Regions from separate parts of the Homo sapiens genome. Here regions 1 and 3 are each linked to region 2. The links are contacts of gene promoters, found by promoter capture Hi-C in human tissues and cell types (Jung and others, 2019). All regions are on one chromosome and are shown on one strand. Each heading gives the region's core, a stretch centred on a gene start or on the middle of the fragment in contact. The rest is flanking DNA. Distances are from core to core; before and after follow the strand shown. Region 1 holds the start of ZNF813 (zinc finger protein 813). Region 2 holds the start of ZNF841 (zinc finger protein 841). Region 3 holds the start of ZNF665 (zinc finger protein 665).

Region 1 (2,700 bases), core at 32-2,531, 1.4 Mb after region 2:
ACTTAATGGGTTGTATAGAACAGTGAAGTTTCTTTCTCTCTTTTCAACCTCTTAGCTGTTTGTCTATTTCGCATCATAATCTGGCCTAAGGCTTATTTATTAATGAAATGGTTTTAATTTCTTTCTCTATTGTCGTCGTGGAGATGATTTCTCATTGGGGGGAAGACTTTTTGTTTGTTTTCAATTATGTTTTCTCAACAATTGGAAAGTGAAGTAAAAAGTATTTGTTGGGCCAGGTGCAGTGGCTCACGCCTGTAATGCCAGCACTTTGGGAGGCCGAGGCAGGCGGATCACTTGAAGTCAAGAGTTTGAGACCAGCCTGGCCAACATGGTGAAACCCGTCTACAAAAATACAAAAATTAGCCAGGCATGGTGGCACGCGAATGTAATGGCAGGTACTCCGGAGGCTGAGGCAGGGGAATCGCTTGAACCCAAGAGGGAAGAGGCTGCAGTGAACCGAGATCCCGTTACTGCCCTCTAGCCTGGGCGACAGAGAAATACTCTGTCTCAAAAGAAATAAGTAAATAAATAAAGTAATAAATCTCTTCCACAAACGTGCTGAGACAACTAACTGAATATCCAGATGGAAAAGAATACTGTTGGATCCCTATCTCACACAATCAAAATTGTATTTTAAAACATTAAAAAAAAAAAAGGAAAAAAAGAGACGAGGAAGGAAGCGCTGCGGGAGGGGGTGTTACTTTGTCGCTCAGGCTGGCCTGGACCCCCAGGCTCAGCGATCCTCCCGCCGCTGCTTCCTGAGTAGCTGGGACCTCAGGCTCCTGCCCCCGCGCGCGCATCCCTCCCACCCCGGCGCCCCATCCAGCAGGTGGTCACCTCACTCCTCCCTGGCCTGAGCACTCCGTCCCGCATCCATGGCGGTGGCTTTAGGGAAATCTCTGAAGTTGAGCACGGGGTGGACTTGCCCTCCTGAGTGAATGGAGAATAGAAAGGGGGAGGATTTCTATTTTGTTTTGTGGGCCGTCAGCATGAAATCGTACCTTCCGCCCAGGCAGGGCTTTGCATTTCACATTCTAGTTTGCATCCCCGTTCCAGACAATTCCAGGGCTTTTGAATAGTGCCTCAACCTTACTGGCCGGTCTCGACTCCAAAACCCTAAAACAGGCGCTGGAGCGAGGGTGACGGACTCACAGGTCCCACCCCGGCCCCGCCCTCTGCGCCTTCCAAAGGGCAAAGTCTCTCCGCCTCTCGCCCCGCCCCTGCTTCGTCAGGCCCCGCCCACCTCCCAGGTCCCGCCCAGGCCTGGCTTCTGTCCTGCGCGCAGATTCGCGAAAACCCGGAAGCGGATCGCGTGGAGTGACGGTCCCACGGCAGCGCGTGAGTTTGGCTCTGTGTTGTATTAGGTCTGCACTTCCCAGGTCCCTGGCGCTTCTGTACCTGGGGCGTGGGGTCCCCACAAACCTGGAAATTCTCAGCCGTCTTCCTTCACCCAGAGCAAATTGAGACGACCCCGTGAGAGTCCGGGGGTCGCTTCCTTTTGTGTTTAAGGTCGCCCTGAGGCTGGTCCCGTCCCGGGTCTTTCTGCTATAGGGCAATGTATACACTTTCTATCGCGCATTTTTCCTGCTCTAAACCTTTCTCTGACTCCTCCCACCCCGCGCTTTTTGAAGTCCTCACCCAAGGGGTGGATTCTCGCCCACTTCGGCCGGTGGAGCGCAGAACCGCGGCCCCAGTCCCGGGAAGGCCGCGTCCTCTGTCTGGTCCCGGGATCCTGCAGACCCCACCCTTGTCTTAAGGCGCCCTCGCGCCCCCCCCCCCCCACCTCCCTCCTCCTGCCGGGCCCTGCTGCTTCCTAGGTCTCCCCTCCGCAGTCACGGCTTCCCCTGAGCCCACGTTGGGGAGGTGCCCGGGGCTTGTCCTGTTGAAGGAGGCCAGCCCTTCCACACCTGTGGGTATTTCTCGTCAGGTGGGAAGAGAGACTGAGAAAAGAAATAAGACACAAAGACAAAGTATAGAGAAAGGACAGTGGGCCCAGGGGACCGGCGCTCAGCATACGGAGGACCGGCACCAGTGCCAGCCTCTGAGTTCCCTCAGTATTTATTGATCATTATTTTTACTGTCCTAGTGAGGGGAGTGTAGCAGGGCAACAGGTGGGGAGAGGTCAGCAAGAAAACATGTGAGCAAAGGAATCTATATCATGAATAAGTTCAAGGAAAGGTACTGTGCCCAGATGTGCACGTAGGCTAGATTTATGTTTCTCTTCACCCAAACATCTCAGTGTAGCAAAGAGTCACAGAGCAGTATTGCTGCCAGCATATCTCGCCTCCAGCCACAGGGCGGTTTTCTCCTATCTCAGAATAGAACGAATGGAAATGGTCAGCTTTACACCTAGACATTCCATTCCCAGGGACCAGCAGGAGACAGAAGTCTTCCTCTTATCTCAACTGCAAAGAGGCCTTCCTCTTTCACTACTCCTCCTCAGCACAGACTCTTTACGGGTGTCCGGCTGGGGGATGTAAGGTCTTTCCTTTCCCACGAGGCCATATCTCAGGCTGTCTCAGTGGGGGGAAACTTGGACAATACCCAGGCTTTCTAGGGCAGAGGTCCCTGCGGCTTTCCGCAGTGCATTGTGTCCCTGGTTAACTGAGAATGGAGAATGGCGATGACTTTTACCAAGCATACTGCCTGCAAACATATTGTTAACAAGGCACACCCTGCACAGCCCTAAATCCATTAAAC
Region 2 (2,700 bases), core at 139-2,638:
TGTGTTTCCCTCTCTCATTCTGAGCGTCTTTTTTTTCTCCTTTTCTGTTTTGCACCCCTTTCTTTATTCCCTCTTTTATGTCTGTTCTGCCCAATGCTCTGCAACTTACTTCACCTCTCGTAGCTCTTTCTCCCCAATCTTTCCGATTGTCCCCAATCTCCACGTATTTCTGCCTCTTTTCCCCCATCTAAGCTCCCTCTCTGCTCTCCTTGTTAAATTCCCTCTTCCCTGTTACATCTCCTTTGTTCCCACTCTCTAGCACCCCCAATTTCCTAGGCTTACTCCCTGCTGTGGTTCTCCCTCTACTCTGCTTGTCACCCACTGCCCTCTCTCCCTCTCTTTCAGTCCCAGCACCACGTAGCTCTGTCAGCCGCGGCTCCAACTCTTTCACCTTCTCCCCACTGTCTGTCTGTCTGCAGTGCCTCCTCCTTTGCCGCCCCACTCTATTTTGCTGCCCTTCATCTCTCTGAAGGTCCCCTTTTTTTCTAAATTTCTCTGTGTGCTTTTCTCCCCCTGCTACTTTTTCCATCCGTTCTCTTTCACTCTTGCTCTCTTTGCAAGTCCCTAAAGTATCATCCATTTTGCCGTGTATTTATGGGTCTCCCTCATTCTTTTCTCCTCAGTTTTTCCTTTTGCTCCGTCGTTCCCCGTCTTTTCCTCTCCTGATCCCTCTCACCCACACATTCGGGAGGAAAGGGGAGGAATAGGATGCCCACCTCCCGGAAGAGCACATTTTCCAGTGGAGTAAAATTTGGGAAGGAAGAACACTGGGTGTCACAAGACAGACTCAGGTAACCTGTCCCAACGGGGAGTCAAGAAAAGCAGTGGCTGTGAAGGGGAAGCCTGGGGAGCGGAAGGACCCGGCGTGAGGACGACACGAGGTGGCGCGGAGAACGATGTCTCACGACAGGGAGGGTCTGCAGAATCCCAGGACGTGGGAGGAGAAGCGGCTCCTTCAGGAGCCGGACAGTGGGCGCTCCCCTCCAGGGGCAGACGACGGAGGAGCTCGGGGATCGCGAAGGGCGCTAGTCCACATCCCGAATGAGGACTCGACTTGGCGCGGGGCCCAAGCAGAGGGTTTTAAGCGGGAACACTACCTGAATGGGGTTGTCTACATGGTCCTAAGGAAGAAAGGCAGAGAGCAAGGAACGGCCTCAGAGAGATTTTAAACCGAAAGGGAAGCAATTCTCCTACTTACTTGGGACGAAGGGGCTGTTGCGGGTATTTTAAGGTCCGTAGCGATCCCCAGGTCACGGGTATGGAGAACCGAGGACTGCGAAGTGCACGTTTAATCAAGGTAGACGAAGAGAAGCAAACGTTTAATCCAGGTAGACTGAAACACACTCATAGCGACGTGGCCTTTCCCCAGCGCGATCTGCTTCCGGGTGTGCAGGAAACTGGGCGCGGAAAGAAAAACTGGGCGGCCTGGGGGCGGGGCCTAGGCGGGGCGCGACTAGGAAAGGGCTGGGCGGAAAGACTGGCCTGACTTGGGAGTGGCCCGAAAGGGTGGTGGGAGGCCCAGGGCGGTAGGGGGCGTGACTAGGTGGGGCTTGGCTGGACCGAAAACTGGGATGAAGCGGGGCCTCCAGGGGTGGGCGGGGCCGAGGCGGGGCCTGTTCTCCACTCCGCCTCTCACCCAGCAGGATTTTGTTTTCCAGGTTTGGGAGTATTTGTGACTATTTCTTGTCCTGTGAAGCAGCGTTGCTCCTTGCCCATTTTAAATTAATGTTTCAGAATTTAAGGTTGAATCTTAAAGTTGTGGTCCACTTATACTGGAAACTAAGATGATTTATTCTTAACAAGTTGAACTGATTTAAGTCAAAACCGATTTTTCCGAGCCTGGTGGACTCCATCCAGTCTTACCAGAAAAGCTGAAGCTACTCAGTAGTCAGGGAACTGGGATCTCGGTGGGGATTGGATGTGGAGCAGTGACTGGATCCAGGAACCCAGAAGACATTATGCCAAGCGAAATGTGCTAGACACAGTGTAGAAAATGAAATAAGTAGAGGTTCCTCTTCAAAGGGACTTTCCTCCCAGTCTAATTGAGAATAGATAGTAACCTCTCTTAGAAGCAAAATTTACTCAAAGACCTGTGCTAATATTCTTAAATATCTGCTAGCCATAATAGATAAATCAATATACTCTGTGTTCTTAGCTCCCACATTTTAGCCTAGATATTTGCCCTGGCATGCCTGAATTGTTCCAAGCAAGCATTAGGTCACAGCCTATTCCTCTTCCTTATTTGGAAGTGTTTTTGCCTCTCTCAGCCTTCCACAAGTTACTTCCTCTCTTCCTTTGTTCTCCTCTGCCTTTGCCTCTTTTGGGAAGTTCTAAGGTGCTAGCCAATCAGGTCAAGCACAGAATTGGGTCCGATTCCAGCCAATGGAAACCAGACACAGCAGTAGGGTGGACGCGTCAGGTTATTATTATTATTATTTTTTTTGAGACGGAGTCTCGTTCTTTCGCCCAGGCCGGAGTGCAGTGGCGCTATCTCGGCTCACTGCAAGCTCTGCCTCCTGGGTTCACGCCATTCTCCTGCCTCAGCCTCCCGAGTAGCTGGGACTAGAGGCACCTGCCACTGCGCCCAGCTAATTTTTTGTATTTTTAGTAGAGACGGGGTTTCACTGCGTTAGCCAGGATGGTCTCGATCTCCTGACCTCGTGATCCGCCCACCTCGGCCTCCCAAAGTGCTGGGATTAC
Region 3 (2,700 bases), core at 180-2,679, 1.1 Mb after region 2:
CTGGGCCATAGTCCCCCTCTTTCTTCCTTCCTGTGTGTTTCCCTCCCTCATTCTGTACATCTCTCTCATTCTCTTCTTCTCTCTCCTTGTTTCTTTTCTGTGTTTCAGCCTGGGTCTCTGCTCCTCATTTTGAGCCCCTCTCTTCTCCTGCTGTTTCTCCTTCCCTCTATCCTTCTCTTCCACTTGTTCTGTTCCATTCTTGCAACTTGTTTCACCTCTTATTCCTCTTTCACCCGTCTTTTGGTTGTCCCCAATCTCCATCTATTTCTGCCTCTTTCTTCCCTTATCTCTGCTCTCCCTGTTAAATCCCCTCTTCCCTGTTTCACTTCCTTGTCCCCACTCTTTGGCACCCCCAGATCCCAGGTCTCCCCCTGCTGTGGTTCTCCCTCTGCTCTCCTTGTCACCAGCTGCCCCTTCTTGCTGTCCCAGCACCACGCTGCTCTGTCTATCCTGGCTCCAAATACCCCCTCCTCTCCCTAACTCTCCGTCTGAGGAGCTGCCCCTCTCCCTACCTTGCTGTCCTTCATCTCTCTAGACAGCGAGCTTTTCTCTACATTTCTCCAGTTGTTTCTCCATCCTGTTACTTTCTCAGCGACTTCTTTCACCCTTACTGTCTCTTTGTAAATCCTGACCCATCCTCTACTTTGCCATGTTTACTGGTTTCCCTCATTCTTTCCTCTGTCTCCGTTTTTCTACTTTTCTCTCAGCCCCCCTCTCTGTCTCCTGATCCCCTTGGCCCACACATTCACAGGGAGGGTTTGGAGTAAGACACCTGGATCCTGGAGGAGCACATTTTCCAGCGGGTGGAGCTGGGCAGGCAAGAACACCGGGTATCACAGGACAAGGCCCGGGCACCTCCCCAACGCGGGCTCAGGGGAAACGGTGACTGCGAAGGGGAGGCCTAGGGAGCAGCAGGGCCCGGCACGAGGAGGAGGGAGGTGGGGGGCGACGGCGCCTTAGGAGAGGGGTGGGGTATGCAGGATCCCAGGACCAGGCAGAGGCGCGGCCTCCCCGGGACTGGGGCTGCGGCGCTAACGCTCCAGTAGCTGACTAGGGCGAGGTTAGGGGACGGTAAAATCCTGCACCCACTTCGCAGATGAGGACTTCACAGGGCGCAGGTCAGTAAAGGGTTTTAAGCAGGAAACGGCGCAGGAAAGGAGGTGTCTGCATGGTCTGAAGGCCGAAAGACCGCGGGCAGGACCAGCCTGTGTGATTTTAACCCAAAGCGATGCGACCCCCAGAGTCTCGCGGCAAAGTCTGAATTTACATGGAATGGAGGGAGCCGTGCGGGGACTTTAAGGGCTATACGAACCCCCGGACATCGGGTACGGAGGAGCAGGGGACTCCGAAACGCAGGTTTAATCTAGATAGAGGGAAACTCACGCGGCGACTAACAGCCTTCACTCCAAGAGATCTGCTTCCGGGTTTGCAAGAAACTGCCCGCGCAGTAGGCAAAGGGGCGGGTTGCGGTGGGGAAAGGCCAGGCGTTGGGAGGGACTGAGAGCATAGGGTGGGCGGGGCCGGGGCGGGGCCTGAACCCTGGAGGCGGAGGTTGCAATGAGCCGATATCGCGCCATTGCACTCCAGCCTGGGTGACAGAGTGAGACTTCGTCTCTCCCAAAAAAAAAAAAAAACAAAACTTAGGCTATCTAAAAGTTTAACCAATGGCCAGTAATATAAGCAATCATGCATATGTAATGAAGGCGCCATAACAACCCAAAAGGAGAGGATTCAGCGGAGCTTCTGGATAGGTGAACACTGGGAGGCTCCTGCAGCGTGGTGCACCCAGGGAGGGCACCAAGGCTCAACGCCCCTTCTCCCATGCCTCACCTCACTGATCCCTTCCATCTGGCTGTTCTTCTGTCAACTTTGTAATATCCTTTATAATACGTAAATCTATGTAAAGTGTTTCCCTGTATTTTGTGAGCCACTCTAGCAAATTCGTTGAACCTGAGGAGGGGGTCAAGGGACTCCTGGATTTATATCTGATCTGTAAGCACAAGTCACAACCTCTGCTTGAGACTGGCATTGAAATGTGTGCACTATTGTGGGACTGAGCCCTCAACGTGTGGGATCTGATGCCATGTCCCGGCAAAATGGAACGGAATGAGAGAACACGCACCTGGTGTCTGTGGCAGGATTGCTTGCTTGGTGTGTGTGGGAAAACCCAGTACCTCTGGGCTAACTGTAGCATTCTGTGTTGTGAGAGAACAGTAGAAGAAACTGAATCAGTGTTTCCTATATTCTTAAATACGAATATGTGAGGTTTGTTGTTGTTTTTTTTTTTTTTTTTTTTTTTTTAGACAAGAGTCTTGCTCTTGTCGCCCAGGCTGGAATGCAATGGCATGATCTCGGCTCACTGAGCCACCGCCCCAGCGTGAAGGCATTTTTGAGCAAGTTATGTCTCCCTAATTCTGTTTTATTGTACTTTTCCCTAAGTAGTTATAATAGCCTCTAAATCTGTGTGGAGTTTTCAGTTTTGTGGACAATACAATAAATAGACAAATAAAAACCCAAACACAAGCTGATCTCTATAGAAGTGTTAGATATTATTTTCAACACACTAAGTGATACTCCGTATCTAGATAAGCTAAAGCACGAATGATGTCTTCTGAGGTGACAAGGTCCACAGTGGCTTTACAGAAACACTGGCCAGAAGTAAAAACTGTGATGATAATGGCAATAGCAATGACTGACTTT

Evidence for each region. The method cuts DNA at HindIII sites, captures the fragments that hold promoters and counts their contacts. A contact is called where the count stands out against the background at its distance.
Region 1: a contact is called between the fragment with the promoter of ZNF813 here and the fragment with the promoter of ZNF841 in region 2, in 1 of the 25 tissues and cell types used here (small bowel).
Region 3: a contact is called between the fragment with the promoter of ZNF665 here and the fragment with the promoter of ZNF841 in region 2, in 1 of the 25 tissues and cell types used here (pancreas).

Annotation. Positions count from the first base shown.
Region 1 is chr19:53,466,452-53,469,151 of GRCh38, forward strand. ZNF813 (zinc finger protein 813) reads left to right here and starts at 1,282. Exons shown (of 4, transcript NM_001004301.4): 1 at 1,282-1,338. RefSeq lists a silencer at 1,126-1,255 and enhancers at 1,326-1,565, 1,502-2,063, 2,064-2,626. The HindIII fragment of the contact is 7,979 bases long and covers 1-2,700 here.
Region 2 is chr19:52,094,377-52,097,076 of GRCh38, forward strand. It overlaps ZNF841 (zinc finger protein 841), which reads right to left and starts at 1,389. Exons shown (of 7, transcript NM_001136499.2): 1 at 1,199-1,389. The HindIII fragment of the contact is 12,551 bases long and covers 1-2,700 here.
Region 3 is chr19:53,191,929-53,194,628 of GRCh38, forward strand. It overlaps ZNF665 (zinc finger protein 665), which reads right to left and starts at 1,430. Exons shown (of 4, transcript NM_024733.5): 1 at 1,384-1,430. RefSeq lists an enhancer at 1,246-1,395. The HindIII fragment of the contact is 23,654 bases long and covers 1-2,700 here.